Linked DNA regions of Homo sapiens: region 2 is linked to region 1. The links are contacts of gene promoters, found by promoter capture Hi-C in human tissues and cell types (Jung and others, 2019). All regions are on one chromosome and are shown on one strand. The core of a region is centred on a gene start or on the middle of the fragment in contact, and the rest is flanking DNA. Distances in the headings are between cores, read along the strand shown.

Region 1 (6,728 bases), core at 2,575-5,074:
TTTTAGTAGAGACGGTGGTTTCACCATATAGGCCAGGCTGGTCTTGAACTCCCGACCTCAAGTGATCCGCCCGCCTCGACTTCCCAAAGTGCTAGGATTACGGGTGTCAGCCACTGCGCCCGGCCAGAACAAGAATTTAACGCACTGCAGAGATGGAGGTTGGGAATGCCAGTTCTCTACCCTTCCCCCAAACCCATTACCCAAGAGAGCTGGTGTCCTTTTCTCCCCATCCCCACAGAGGCGGGGAGGGTTCACTCATTTCAAGCATCTCCAGTGGAACTCTTAGTGCCCTCTATAGATCTTTTGGGGAAGGGGCCCTTTGAGAGTCCCACGGAAGTGACAGCTGCAGCGGGAAGGGAGGTAGCATGGGTGAGCTAACCACTGCCTCGCTCCACCGCTGGACACTCTTCCCCTCCACTGTCCCTCAGCAGCCCCATCTGTGAAATGAGATTCTGGATTTGGGGGAGGATTGAAATGAGTTAATAGACATTCAAGTCTTAGAGAGCTGCCTGGCTCACAGGAAGTGCTTGGTAACTGGCAGCTGCTTGTTATGGTCCGGCTATTGTGTGCCTGTTTCAGGACTCATTCAATGACTTGCATTCACAACAACCTTGTCATCCGGGAACGGAGGAAATACTGCTAAGATTGTTTCTCTTCTTGGTTGCTGCCTCACCGCTTGTCCTGGAGCCCAGACCATTGATGTAACAAGGATTTTCTTTCTGAGGATACCATGTTTTATTTGTGATTCAAGCCTTTTTTTTTTTTTGAGATGGAGTCTCGCTGTGTCACCCAGGCTGGAGTGCAGTGGCACAAAATCGGCTCACTGCAAGCTCTGCCTCCCAGGTTCATGCCATCCTCCTGCCTCAGCATCCCGAGTAGCTGGGACTGCAGGCGCCTGCCACCATGCCTGGCTAATTTTTTGTATTTTTAGCAGAGACAGGGTTTCACCATGTTAGCCAGGATGGTCTCGATCTCCTGACCTCGTGATCCACCCGCCTCGGCCTCCCAAAGTTGCTCTATTTTACCTACCATACATTGTCCTCTCAGATTAAAATAATAGTACCTTCAGTTAATAATACCTTGCATTTAGGAAGTTGCTTTCCTCCCATCAGCTCAAAGCCCTCTACAAACATGACCTCATTCATTCTCCCAGGAGTGGGACAGTCCTAAGTTTCCCAGCTACTCATCTCCAACCGGATTCTCAGAAGCCAAAATATGGATTAAGCACTTCCATGTCTCAGGACCACAAATCACGGGCTCTGTTGCTCTCCTTCCTTCTTCCTGAGTGACCTTAGGCCCACAGAAGATAACTAGTACCTGAGTCTCTCTGGCTTGGGGGCCTTGCCCTCCATGCCCCGCCCAGGTGCCCACAGCTGGGCCCTGCAATTGTTAAACATTACATAAACTGGATAAACTGCCTTGATTTCCAGGAAATAACAGGTTTGGCAACTTTGGACTCTTGCTTTCCTTGGGAACTTACTTCTGAATTAAGACCTACGGGCTCATAGGGGACATTCCACTACAGCCAGAAATGTCTCTCCCCAGGGTAGACCCTCCTACTCACGGCCCTGGCATGTTTGACACCCGCATGTACTTATGAAAACCTGGAGCCCCACAGTGACAGTACTTCCTTCTTCTGGGCTGCTTGCGGCCTGAGCTCCCTGGCAGTGTATGCTGCCAGCTGCTCACTTTTGTTTTCACCTTGCAATTACTGGACGGGAAGGCTGCAAGCTATACTGGAGTCTCCAGCCACACGCCAGGTCCCAGCCCACGTGTACTTCAGGGCCATTCCCAGGAAAAAGCTGACTCCTACTCCTTCAAAACAAACAAATAAACAAAAAACGAACCAAATGGAATGAGCTCATGATAGTACCTGAATTTGTTTTTCATCAGTACAGAAACATTAACATTAATTGTAATCTTCTTCTTGTTTGTAAACTTTAAAAATACATACTGTCAAGTTTTCTTAGATAGGGAGTTAAATCCAATTTAGGCAAAGTCAAGATAGAACCACGACGTGCTTTCTTATTATAAGCCTCCTTCTGTTCTGCAGACCTTTAGCTGGTTAAAATACACTCTGTAATTAGTAGTTCAGATAAAAAACTCACAAAGTTCTCCTGAAACAGAAACTCTTAACAGTGAATCCCTAACAATATTTATCTTCCCAATCTCTTCTGCCCCTTCCCCAATCTGCTTAAACTCCTAGTTCTTTTCCTACCCCCACAATTCTCAAACACAGCCCTGAAGATCAAACTCTAATCCAGAAGATGGAAGCTCAGCACATACAAACAAATTTGGGGCCAGGCATGGTGGCTCACACCTGTAATCCCTGTGCTTTGGGAGGCTGAGGCAGGAGGATCACTTTAGTCCAGGAGTTCAAGACCAGCCTGGGCAACAATAGTGAGATCTCATCTCTACCAAAAATTCAAAAATTAGTCAGGCATGGTGGTGTGTGCCTGTAGTCCCAGCTACTCGAGAGGCTGAGGCAAGAGGATCGCTCGAAGTTACAGTGAGCCATGATCATGTCACTCTAGCCCTATCTAACAACCACCACCACCAAATTTTGGACTTTAAAGGGCTACCACTGAGAAACAGTATCTCTGTAGAAACACTCACTGTTTGTTATTGTTTGTTTTTATTTGGTAGAGATGGAGTCTGTGCTATGTTGCCCAAGCTGGTGTTGAACTCCCGGCCTCAAGTTATCCTCCTGTCTCGGCCTCCCAAAGTGCTGGGATTATAGGTGTAAGCCATCCCAACCCCAGACTCCACCCCTACTGCCACCCGTTGTTTTTTTAAAAGATGGTAGAAATTAAAGCTTCATCTTAGCTTTCGTGACAAGCAAGAGAAAAAAAAAAAAAGAAAATTAAAGCTTCAGTTAGGTCAACCGATTTAACAAGAAAAAATTCTTGACTTGGCATTTTGGCCACTGAGAAAGTCTCACTTTTTTCCTTGCATATTTCCTTGCATATCGTATTTATTGTACATAAATCTTGGCTTCCATCTTCAGAGAGCAAAGTCTTTGGTCTAAAAACTGAGAAAATACTGCTCGATCCTTGCGGTGGGTAGTGATTAGAAGAGGGCAGGACGCGGGTTCCTAGGGTGCAAGTAACGTTCTGTTAATTGATCTGGGTGTTCACTTGGTGAAAAGTCTGGAAGCTGTACCTGCGACATCGCACTTTCCTAATGTACGTTATATTTCAATAAAAGATTTTTTTAAATTGGACTGCTTGAAAGTTATTTTTAAAAATTACATGCTTTTGAGACTTGAGCAGCTGCAAAGGCTCTGTTTTCTATTTTGATCATTCTGTTTCTCGAGATGACCACATCTTTCAGAGGAAATGAGTCAAAGCCACTCTGTCTTGCTTTTCCAGCTGAGCATGTTCTGTTTCAATGAAGTAATGAATGAACTTGGCCGCACCACCCCCAAGCCTACAACAGCAAACAGAGGGCCCTCGGCCAATCAGCAGGCACTCCGGGTTTTCAAGTTGAGTTCAAACAGGACCACCGGAGGCCAATCAGAGTGCGCGGCCCCGCCCCGAACGCCCGGCCGTGACCAACCACGAGGCCGGATGAGCCAAAACACAGCGGCCGGCCAATGCTGGGGAGCCCCACGGCGCCGAGCTCCGCCAATGGGCGCGGCCGGGCGAAAAGAGAAACAGTGAGGGCCCCACAGGCCGCAGGATTCGAATCGAACGTCCTTACGGGAGCCGGGCGCTGGCGGAGCGGCGCCCCGGCCAATCAGCGGCAGTCCCCGAACGTTGGGCCGGCCCAGCCCCGCCCCGCGCTGTTGTTTGTGGTGTCGGCCGGGCCGCGGGAGTCGAACCACAACATTCGCCGGGCGGGCGGCGGCGGAGCGGGCGGCGGAGCGGCGGCAGCAGCGGTGAGCGCGAGCCCCGGAGCCCCGGGCGGCCGGCCTCCCGCGCCCGCGCAGCCCCGCGTCTGCGTCCGGCCGGAGACGCCGGGCCCCGCGCCGCGCCGCGCCATGTCGGTGAACATGGACGAGCTGCGGCACCAGGTCATGATCAACCAGTTCGTGCTGGCCGCGGGCTGCGCGGCCGACCAGGCGAAGCAGTTGCTGCAGGCGGCCCACTGGCAGTTCGAGGTGCGAGCCTGGCCGCCGCGGGGCCGGGCCGCGGGGGTCGGGGACGCCGGGCGGCGGCGGGGGCGGGGAGCGCTCCTGTTGTCGGCCCGGAAGGCGATCGGCGCCCGCGAGCGGGTCTTACGCGGGACCGGGGCCGGGACCGGCTCCCCTCTGCACGTGGGGCAGCCGAGGGTCGGGGGCCGCGGGCCGGGCGCGGAGGCGGGGAGAGCCGGTGGGGGGCCCAGCCGCTGCGTTTCCTGACTCCGCCTGGCCCGCCGTGTCACTGCCCTGTTTGTCCGCAGACCGCGCTGAGCACGTTCTTCCAAGAAACCAACATTCCCAACAGCCACCACCACCACCAGATGGTAAGCGGCGGCGGGCAGGGGCGCGGGCCGGGGCCGCTGTCAGCGCGGCGGTGACAGCCATGTTGCCGGGGAGCGCCGCGCCGCGAATGTAAACAAAGAGCCAAAATGTCTTCCAGGAAAGAGCGGCTCCCGGGCCGGCGCTGGCGCCTCCAACTTTGAGGCCCGCCTCCCGGGCTGCTGCTGCTTGGCCTCGGGACTGGTGCCCGGCACTGGTCCCTGGGGGGAAGCGGCGCCAAAGTTGGGGGGAGGGGGAGAGGGCCGGGGGCCTGGCGAGGGGCTCAGGAGCTGGGGGACCCCAGAGCCAGGGGATGGGGAGGGGGAGAGGGTGATGCCCGGACGTCTGGGGCACTGGGAAGCCCGCGCGAAGGGCCCAGGGAGGGCGATGGGGGTGCTTGTGTTTATGGGGACCCCCTCGTGCTGTTGAGTGGTTTCCCCCCTCCCCCTCCACACACACACACACCCAGCGCTACAGGGAACAGGAAAGGCATGAATCCACCCTGGCTCAGGAAGCCGGGCTCTACCCACAAAGATCTGTTCAACCTTCCGAAGCCCAAGGGGACTGGGAAGTTGGAAGGACATACATCCCCCAAGCCAGGAGGACACACAGATTTTGACCCAAGATAAGGCCAGGAATGTGTCTTTAATCTCTGTGTTGAGCTCCACCAGCCCAGCACACAGAGAAGTGGTCCGGGGTCTGGATTTGCTTTCTTTTTCATTCTAGCCCAGGCCCAAGCTTTTGCCCTCCTGGCCATGGGGTACTCTGCTTTCTTGAGGCCCAGGACATCTCTCCTGTACCCTACCCCCCTAGTTACCTATTAGCCCTGCTGGGGGAGGAGGGGCAGGGCTCAGCGATAGGGATCTTAAAACATTGTTCCCCAGGAGAGCTGTTGTGGACTCTAGGTGCATTTTTGGGATTTTTAACACTTGGTGCCCTTGCCTTTGGCTCTCTGTTTTCATCTAGTCACAGAGGACAAGTAGAGGGGTCTGTCTTGACCTTGTTAGCTAGTTTTTCTCAGAATGGCTGATGCTGTATATAAATCAAGCCAAAATGGCATTTGAGTATGATGGGAGCATGGTGCTGGCCACAGGGCTCTTAGAAACCCAAGAGGGTTTCATCTCCAGGGGACACCGTCCCCTGCACTTGACCAGGAGAAATGGCCAGCACCCGCCTATGCTTGAGTCTCGAAGCTTCCTGCCATCTCCTGTCACCGGATCCTTGAGATTTCCTTCCACCAGCTGTGGCCATCCCAAAAAACTCAGAACTTCCAGATACTACAGCCATTCTGAGGGGCTGAGAACAGGGAGGCTCCCCAGGAAGAGCTGGTCTGGCATCCTGTTTAGTTCCTATTGCCCCTCCTCTGCAAATCCCAAGGAGATGCTAAGTCTCTTTTGAAGCTTCCCTCAAGGAAGGCAGCAGGTTTTGTAACACACATAACCAGTGTGTCCATCAGTGCCCAAGTCTGAGTGCCTTAGCAGCACAGTGGAGGACACCATCCCTGCTCTCAAAAAGTTCATGGTTTCTTTTTTTTTTTTTTTTTTTTTCTAATTTTATTTTTGAGAAAGGCCAGGGCAGGGGGAGTCTCTATGTGGCCCAAGCTGGTCTTGAACTCCTGGCCTCAAGCTATCCTTCCGCCTCAGCCTCCCGAAGTGCTGGGATTATAGGTGTGAGCCACTGCACCCAGCTGGCAATTTCTTTTCTTTTTTTTTTTTTTTGAGACAGAGTTTCACTCTTATTGCCTAGGCGGAGTGCAATGGTGTGATCTCGGCTCACCGCAACCTTCACCTCCTGGGTTCAAACGATTCTCCTGCCTCATGGGATTACAGGCACGTGCCACCTGTAATCCCACACCTGGCTAATTTTGTATTTTTAGTAGAGACGGGGTTTCTCCATGTTGATCAGGCTGGTCTCGAACTCCCAACCTCAGGTGGTCCGCCTGCCTCGGCCTCCCAAAGTTCAGGGATTACAGGCGTGAGCCACTGCACCCGGCCTGGCAATTTATTTTGGACAAAGTAAGTCAAAGGAAAAAGATCAAAAAACGAAACACTAGAGACCAGTAACAGCAAAATGGCAAAACCAGAAGTCATGAGTAACTGATAAATGGTTGTCCCGTACATTACTGTAGATTCCCATAGTTGGAAGCTTCCCAGTTGATAAGGAGGGCTTCCCAGTTGGAAGTGGAGAAAGGCACTACAGACTTGAAGTGGGAGGACAAAGGTACAGGGGACAATGGGTTTTCTTGAGAACTGGCCGAGAGGGCATATCTGGTTCAAAACCCTCATTT
Region 2 (7,094 bases), core at 3,933-6,432, 1.1 Mb after region 1:
ACCTGGTGAATCAGAGCCAAACTCTCCTGACAATTGGCTGTCACTTATTTAACTGCCACCATCCCCAGGAGACAGAAAATGCCAGAAGGGTGGGGCCTGTGCAGTGCCTCCTCGCTATTTCCCCAGGGCACCGTGCCACGTTGCCTCAATGCACAGAGTAGCTGCTCAAAGTGTGTCGGACGAACAGGTGCCCCATGCCCAGCCATGCAGACAAAAGTGTGCCACGTGGAGGGAGCTGGTCGTGGAAGAGACCACCAGCATCTTGGCTGCCCGAGGACCTTGCCCCTGGGCTCTTGCAGGCACCCCTAGTTCATTACTTCCTCTCTCACCCATAGCTACCCACTCTTCCTCTATTTCTCTGATATCAGCCTTGCCACCCACCCAGGTTTGCAAGCAGGAAATCTCAGAGTTGACCTTGACCTCTGCCTCCCCAGCACCCCCAGGTCTCAACAGGCTGCCAAGATCTCATCAACTCGCCCTCTGCATACTGACCCTTGGACAGGCTGCCCCGGTCACGGTCATGTCTTGGTTGGGCCTCCATCATCCCTCCTTGGACCAGCAGGTGCCATCCTCCCCACCCCTGCCCTGCTGTGGCTCCTTCCCCTCCACGGCCAACATTTAGAGGACGATTACCACTTCCCTCCCTGTGTGCTGGGGACCGGGTGATAGGATCCCTCCACCCGATCATTTCCATTAGACCTGGGCCGGGTCTTCTTACTCATAGAGCCCTTAGTTTCCGCCCCCAAAGCCTCGAGGGTGGATTCGTGCTGCCGCCCAGCCTGGCCCTGATACCGCTTTCCAGCCTGGAGCCCCCTGCTTCTGCGCTCCTGGCTCTGAGTGCTCGGGCCCCCCCTGGATGGGTTGCCACTTGTCCTCTGGAAAGCAGGGCTTCCATGCTCCTGGACCTCCTAGCTGACTCAGTGACTTTGGGCCATCTTGTCACACCCCTTCTATCAGCTTGGCCTTGGTTATTTCTGTGTCCTCCATAGCCTCGGACCAGAGCCACGGCGGGATGCTTTCCTGGTGCGTGGCAGGCAGTCAGGAAATATTGCTGGACTGACCTTGATAGGAGATGCTTGGGAGAATTGCCCAAAAAACTAGCTTAAAATGCAAATATTGGCCTTCTTTTGCGTTGGCTAAAGAGTAGCATTTCTCCGTTTGCCTCCCGGGTAAGAAATTGATGGCGAATGCAATGTCTCTAGGGAGGAGAAGAAGGTGACAAAAAGGGTCTGTATAACGGGGCACACGCTAGGCATTTGTGACTATTTAAGTTTAAATTATAACATAAATGCGAAACTCTTTGCCTTGGTAGCCCTTCCACATTGCAAGCGTTCACTGCCACATGTGGCTGCCATATTGACTACGGCAGATACAGAACATTGACATCATTGCGGAGAGTTCTATGGGGGGGCGCTGGTTTAGATCATCTTCACGTTGGATCCACAAATTCATTGTTTATCCAGTGAACGGTTACTGGGCACCTACTGAGCAAGCAGGATGAAAGACACCCGCTCTCGGGGGAGTCTTCCGTTGGCTGCAGAGAAGCTTAAACTCAGGGGACCTGGGGCAAACTCTGCAAGGGCCCTTGGCCTCTGCACCCCCAGACCTCCCTCGCTCTGCAGGGGCAGTCGGGGGCCCCCTCTAGGAATGGAGCGCCAGCTCCAGCTCCTGTCAGGCTACAGCCCAGATGGTTGGCTGAGCACGAGCATGTGAGAGTGGAATTGGGCCCAACCGGGCTGCTTCTCCCCGTTGTCTTGGTTTCCTTCCACGCTGACCTGGAAGGACTCCTAAAGCAACAGGCCTGCCCAGGCGGTTTGCACCAGTAAACCCTGCAGCGGCCCCAAGGGCAGAGATAGCTGGATTGTATTTATTTAGGAACAGCCAAAGTCTGAGGCACAATAAAAAGTGGAGAAAGATTCCAGAGAGGAATGCAGCTGGCCTCAGCCTGGGAATCCGTCTTGCTTGGGAGGCTGTAGGCGGGCCAGGCTGGGGCCAGCCTGGAGGGTCTTGGCTGGCTCTGCTGGCAGGTACAGTAGCAGGGTCAGCAGGAGGGAGTCCAGGACGGAGCTCCTTCATTTTTAATTCAGGGAAGCAAACTTCAGTGGTTGAGTCTGAGGATGAGCAGGAAATGAATGGAAAAGTCTTTTTTTTTTCTTTTTTCTTTCTAGGCAGGGTCTTTCTCTGTCCCCCAGGCTGGAGTGCAGTGGCACAATTATAGCTCACTGCAGCCTCAACCTGCCAGGCTCAAGGGATCCTCCTGCCTTAGCCTCCTAAGTAGCTGGGACTACAGTTGTGCGCCACCATGACTGGCTAATTCTTAAAAGAAATGTTTTCAGGCTAGGCATGGTGACCCATGCCTGTAATCCCAGTACTTTTGGAGCCGAGGTGGGAGGATCACTTGAGCTCAGGTGCTCCAGACCAGCCTGGGCAACATGACGAGACCCCGTCTTGACTAAAAATACAAAAAGTTAGCTGGGCGTGGTGGTACAGCCCTGTAGTTCCAGCTACCCGGGAAGCTGAGGCTGCAGTGAGTTGTGATCACGTCACTGTCCTCCAGCCTGGGCAAAGGGAGTAAGGCCCTGTTTCAAAAAAAAAAATTTTTTTTTTTTTTGAGGTGGAGTCTTGCTCTGTTGCCCAGGCTGGAGTGCAGTGGCATGATCTTGGCTCACTGCAATCTCTGCCTCCCAGGTTCAAGTGATTCTCCTGCCTCAGCCTCCCAAGTAGCTGGGATTACAGGCATGAGCCACTGTGCCTGGACTTTTTTTTTTTTTTTTTTTTTTTGTAGAGATGGGATTTCTCTATGTTGCCCAGGCTGGTCTTGAACTCTTGGCCTCAAGTGATCCTCCCACTTTGGCCTCCCAAAGTGTTGGAATTACAGGTGTGAGCCACCACACCCAGCAGGAAAAGTCACTTTTTAAAGCGAGAGGTTGTGCGTCCTCTATAGCTTGGCGCTCATCAGCATGGAGGATTTACTGGAACGTGTGTTAGGTGAGGGGACATGGAAGATGGCAGCAAATCCGAGCCCAGAGCATCAGAAAGCATGCTTTCAGCCAAAGATGCGTTCTCTCCACCTCCGCGCAGCACCCTTCCCCAGTGTGTACTCCTGGAGCAAGGTGGGGCCGATCCTACGAAGACCCTTTCCCGAAGGCCCCTGCTGCCCACATCAGTGTCACCTGGACCGCCTGCTCCCTTTTCTGGATGGCTGGACCAGCCCCAGGGCCTCCTGGCCTGGTGTGGGGAGCACAGTCCACCCTGGGGAATGCCTGGTATGTGTCCCCTCCCCACTGGGTACCAGGGGATGAAGCTGTGCTTCGTGGAAGGGGACAGAGGCGCTGGTGCCCAGGATGGTGCACCTGGGGCGGCTGAACTGGACCTGGCTCCTACTGGGCCCCTGTGGAGCCCAGATTGTTGTGAGAAGGGGTGGGGAAAGGCAGGTGATCCGCACCTTTCACTTTTGTTTCACATGGGAACAGGGGCTTATCCTGCACACATATTCAGTTTGGAGTATGAATTTCCATGAAGAGGAAAATCTCTATTAGGCTCTGATGTCAGGATTGTCCGTGAGGGCCGGGCCGTGTTCTGGGGCAAGGACAGGAGTGGAGGGGGCAACCAGGGAAGGCTTCCTAATGGAGGAGGCATTTGATAGCATCTTGAAAAAGAAGCAGTTCCTAGGCCAAGCCAGAGACTGAAGAATGACCACCTAACTTCTTTTTTTTTTTTTTGAGATGGAATCTCGCGCTGTCGCCCAGGCTGGAGTGCAGTGGCGTGATCTAGGCTCACTGCAACCTCCACCTCCCAGGTTCAAGCAATTCTCCTGCCTCAGCCTTCTGAATAGCTGGGATTACAGGCATGCGCCACCATGCCCAGCTAATTTTTGTATTTTTAGTAGAGACGGGGTTTCACCATGTTGGTCAGGCTGGTCTGGAACCCCTGACCTTGTGATCCACCTGCCTCGGCCTCCCAAAGTGCTGGGATTACAGGCATGAGCCACTGCACCCGGCCACGACCACCTAACTTCTTTCTACAAGATGCCCCCTGGCTGACGCAAAGCAGGTTGAGTGAGTGTGACACTTCCTTCCTGTCTGTGGGTTCCGGCCTTTCCAGAGCCCGGCCAGTGCTATTGGAGACAAAGTGGCCTTCGCTCTTCCTTCCCGCCCTGCCAGGCCCAGCCTGTGCCGCTGAGCCCCACTTTGCAATTAAGAGGAGCTGTGAACCAGTGATGCTGATGTCGCAGAAAAGTGGCCAGGGGTCTATGGGGGGTGAAGGACAGGGATGCCGCCCTGAGAACTGTCTGGAAGGGGCTTTTGGGTAACAGTGCCCACTCCAGGGTGTGGGCAGGCTGGGGTGGCTGGGAGCTGGGCTCATAGGCTGGCACAACCAGAGTTTCCCAAAGCCGTGGGCCTGAGGGCCCTGCCTTCCTGGGACAGCAACCTTTGGTCCAATTTGGGAAAAGGTGGGTTAAACCAAGCCCGGCTCCCTCACTGTAGGATTACTCAGTGCGTTTAGTATGCAAATGTGCCTCTGAATCTAAGACAGGACCACAGAAACCTCTTCAGTGTTCCTCTGGAGGGAGGGACCGCGGGGGATCCACCGCAGGGGCCTGGGTCTGCACTGGCCTGGTGAAGTGCCCCCTTAGTGCTTACACCATGCGCGGTGAGAGGTTGGCCCTCGCCTCCCCCACCCTCTGCTGGCCTTACCTCACCACCTCTGCACTCGCCTCCCAGCCGGCTCATGACTAACTCCTGCCTCTTCAGAGCCAATCGGTGCTGCCAGGTTTTCCATTTCAAGTGATCCCCCGCCTGGGCCAAAATGTTTGGATTTTCAGGCACGGAGGGGAGATGGACCTCAGGCCAAACCATGCTGGGTAAAACTGAGGGTCAAGGCTGTGCTCAGCAAGTGCTCCAGCCCTGGCCGTCAAACCCATAGTGTGCACAGCGTGCAGGAGGTGGCTGGGTGAATGAACTCAGTCATAGCCCGGCCCCTCACTCGGGGCTGTTCCCAAGTTCCCACCGCCAGCCAGGCTGGGTCAGAGCCTCGTGGGGCCTTCCTGGGCTTCCCTGCCCCACAGCAGGAGTTCGTATGGAGAGTCTCGAGTGAGGTTAATGGGTTTTCTTCCTCTTCTTTTTTTTTTTTTTTAATTTGAGACAGGGTCTCACTCTTTTTACCCAGCCAGGGTGCAGTAGTGCAATTATAGCTCACAGCAGCCTCGAACTCCTGGCTTCAAGCAATCCTTCCGCCGCAGCCTCCCAAAGTGCTGAGATTACAGGCACGTGCCACCTTGCCCAGCTGGGGTTTCTGCTTTTTACTTTTTCTCTTGTTTCTAAACTCAATACAAAGAAAGATATTACATTTATAATCAGAAAAACCAACAAGGAATATTATTTCAAAATTGGAAAAGGGATTAAAGAAACAAACCAAGAAACCTCTGCGATTCCTGCCCATCGGAGTCAGTGGTTGTTAGTGGTTGGCTTAACACAATGTTTTAGGAAGAAATAGAATAACAGAAAGCAACTCCAGTGAGCTGAGCCCTGGCTCCGTCTGTGGCGCTGCATCAGTTTCCTGCAGCTGCTGTAACGAGTGGCCACAAGCTGGCTGGGTCACAACAACGCCCAGCCATCCTCTCACAGCTCTGCAGGCCACACATCCGAGATCAGGGTCACCAGGCTGAAATCAGGGTGTCCACTGGGCATAGCCCTCTGGAGGCTCTAGGGCAGGGGTTCCCAGCCCCGTGTGTCCTATTAGGAACTGGCCTGCACAGCAGGAGGTGAGTGACTGGCAAGCGAGCGAAGCTTCATCTGTATTTACAGTCACTCCCCATTGCTCGCATTACTGCCCAAGCTCTGCCTCCTGTCTGATCAGCCATGGCATTGGATTCTTATAGGAGAGTGAACCGTATTGTGAACGGCACATGTGAGGGATCTAGGTTGCGTGCTTCTTATGAGAATCTGATGCCTGATGATCTGTCACCGTCTCCCATCACCACCAGATGGGACCGTCTGGTTGCAGGAAAATAAGCTCAGGGCTCCAACTGATTCTACATTATGGTGAGTTGTATAATTATCTCATTATATATTATAATAATAATAGAAATAAAGTGCACAATCAATACAACGTGCTTGTGGCCGGGTGCAGTGGCTCACACCTGTAATCCCAGAGTGAAACTCTGTCTCAAAAAATAAAAAATAAAGGCCAGGCACAGTGGCTTATGCCTGTAATCCCAGCACTTTGGGAGGCCAAGGCTGGCGGATCACGAGGTCAGGAGTTCAAGATCAGCCTGGCCAATATGGTGAAACCCCGTTTCTACTAAAAATACAAAAATTAGCCGGACACGGTGGCAGGCGTCTGTAGTCCCAGCTTCTTGGGAGGCTGAGGCAGAAGAATTGCTTGAACCCAGGTGGCGGAGGTTGCAGTGAACTGAGATAGTGCCACTGTACTCCAGCCTGGGTGGCAGAGCGAGACTCTGTCTCAATAAAATAAAATAAAATAAAATAATAAATATAATACACTTGAATCATCTCAAAACCATCTCCCCACTCCCTGGTCTGTGGAAAAATTGTCTTCCCTGAAACCGATCCCAGGTGCCAAAAAGGTTGGGGGCCACTGCCTTCATCGCCTGCCCCTTTGAGCCTCTGGTGGCTGTGGGTGTCCCTTGGCTTGTGGCTGCATGGCCCTTACCTTCAACACCAGCATCTACAGATCTCTCCGGGCCCCATCTCCACTTGGCCATCCCTGTCTGTGTCAAATCTCCCTCTGCCCCCGTCTTGTATGAGCACCGAGACTGCCTTTAGGGACCACCTAGACCATCCAGGGTGCTCTCGCCACAGCAAGATCTGCAACTGAATCACAGATGCAAAAACTCTTGTTCCAAACAAGGTCCCATTTGCAGGTCTAGGGATTAGGACATGCTATCCCTGGGGCCATTATTCAGCCTTCTCTCGTGACTATGATCCCTCCCTTCCTCCCCAGCCTCCCACCTCGGCTGAGATGCTGTCCCCACCTCCCTCACTGTCTGGCTGCCTGTGGGGCTGTCCTCCAGGCTCTTTGGGAGGAGGTGGTTGCTTGATGTCTCCCAGAAGGCTGGGAATGGTCCTCCC

Evidence for each region. The method cuts DNA at HindIII sites, captures the fragments that hold promoters and counts their contacts. A contact is called where the count stands out against the background at its distance.
Region 2: a fragment that was not itself captured here is called in contact with the fragment with the promoter of UBALD2 in region 1 in 1 of the 25 tissues and cell types used here (hippocampus).

The regions. Positions count from the first base shown.
Region 1 is chr17:76,261,524-76,268,251 of GRCh38, forward strand. UBALD2 (UBA like domain containing 2) reads left to right here and starts at 3,825. Exons shown (of 3, transcript NM_182565.4): 1 at 3,825-4,102; 2 at 4,384-4,446. The coding sequence starts at 3,983. It overlaps LOC105371896 (a long non-coding RNA gene), which reads right to left and starts at 3,558. Exons shown (of 6, transcript XR_007065913.1): 1 at 1,080-3,558. RefSeq lists silencers at 465-759, 3,628-3,927, 4,228-4,367 and enhancers at 1,570-1,659, 3,228-3,277, 4,538-4,637, 6,608-6,728. The HindIII fragment of the contact is 4,971 bases long and covers 436-5,406 here.
Region 2 is chr17:77,311,584-77,318,677 of GRCh38, forward strand. All of the region lies in intron 2 of SEPTIN9 (septin 9), which reads left to right. Among named protein-coding and RNA genes, the nearest start is that of SEPTIN9-DT, 33 kb to the left of the region's middle. RefSeq lists enhancers at 2,770-3,605, 5,278-6,113. The HindIII fragment of the contact is 3,030 bases long and covers 3,668-6,697 here.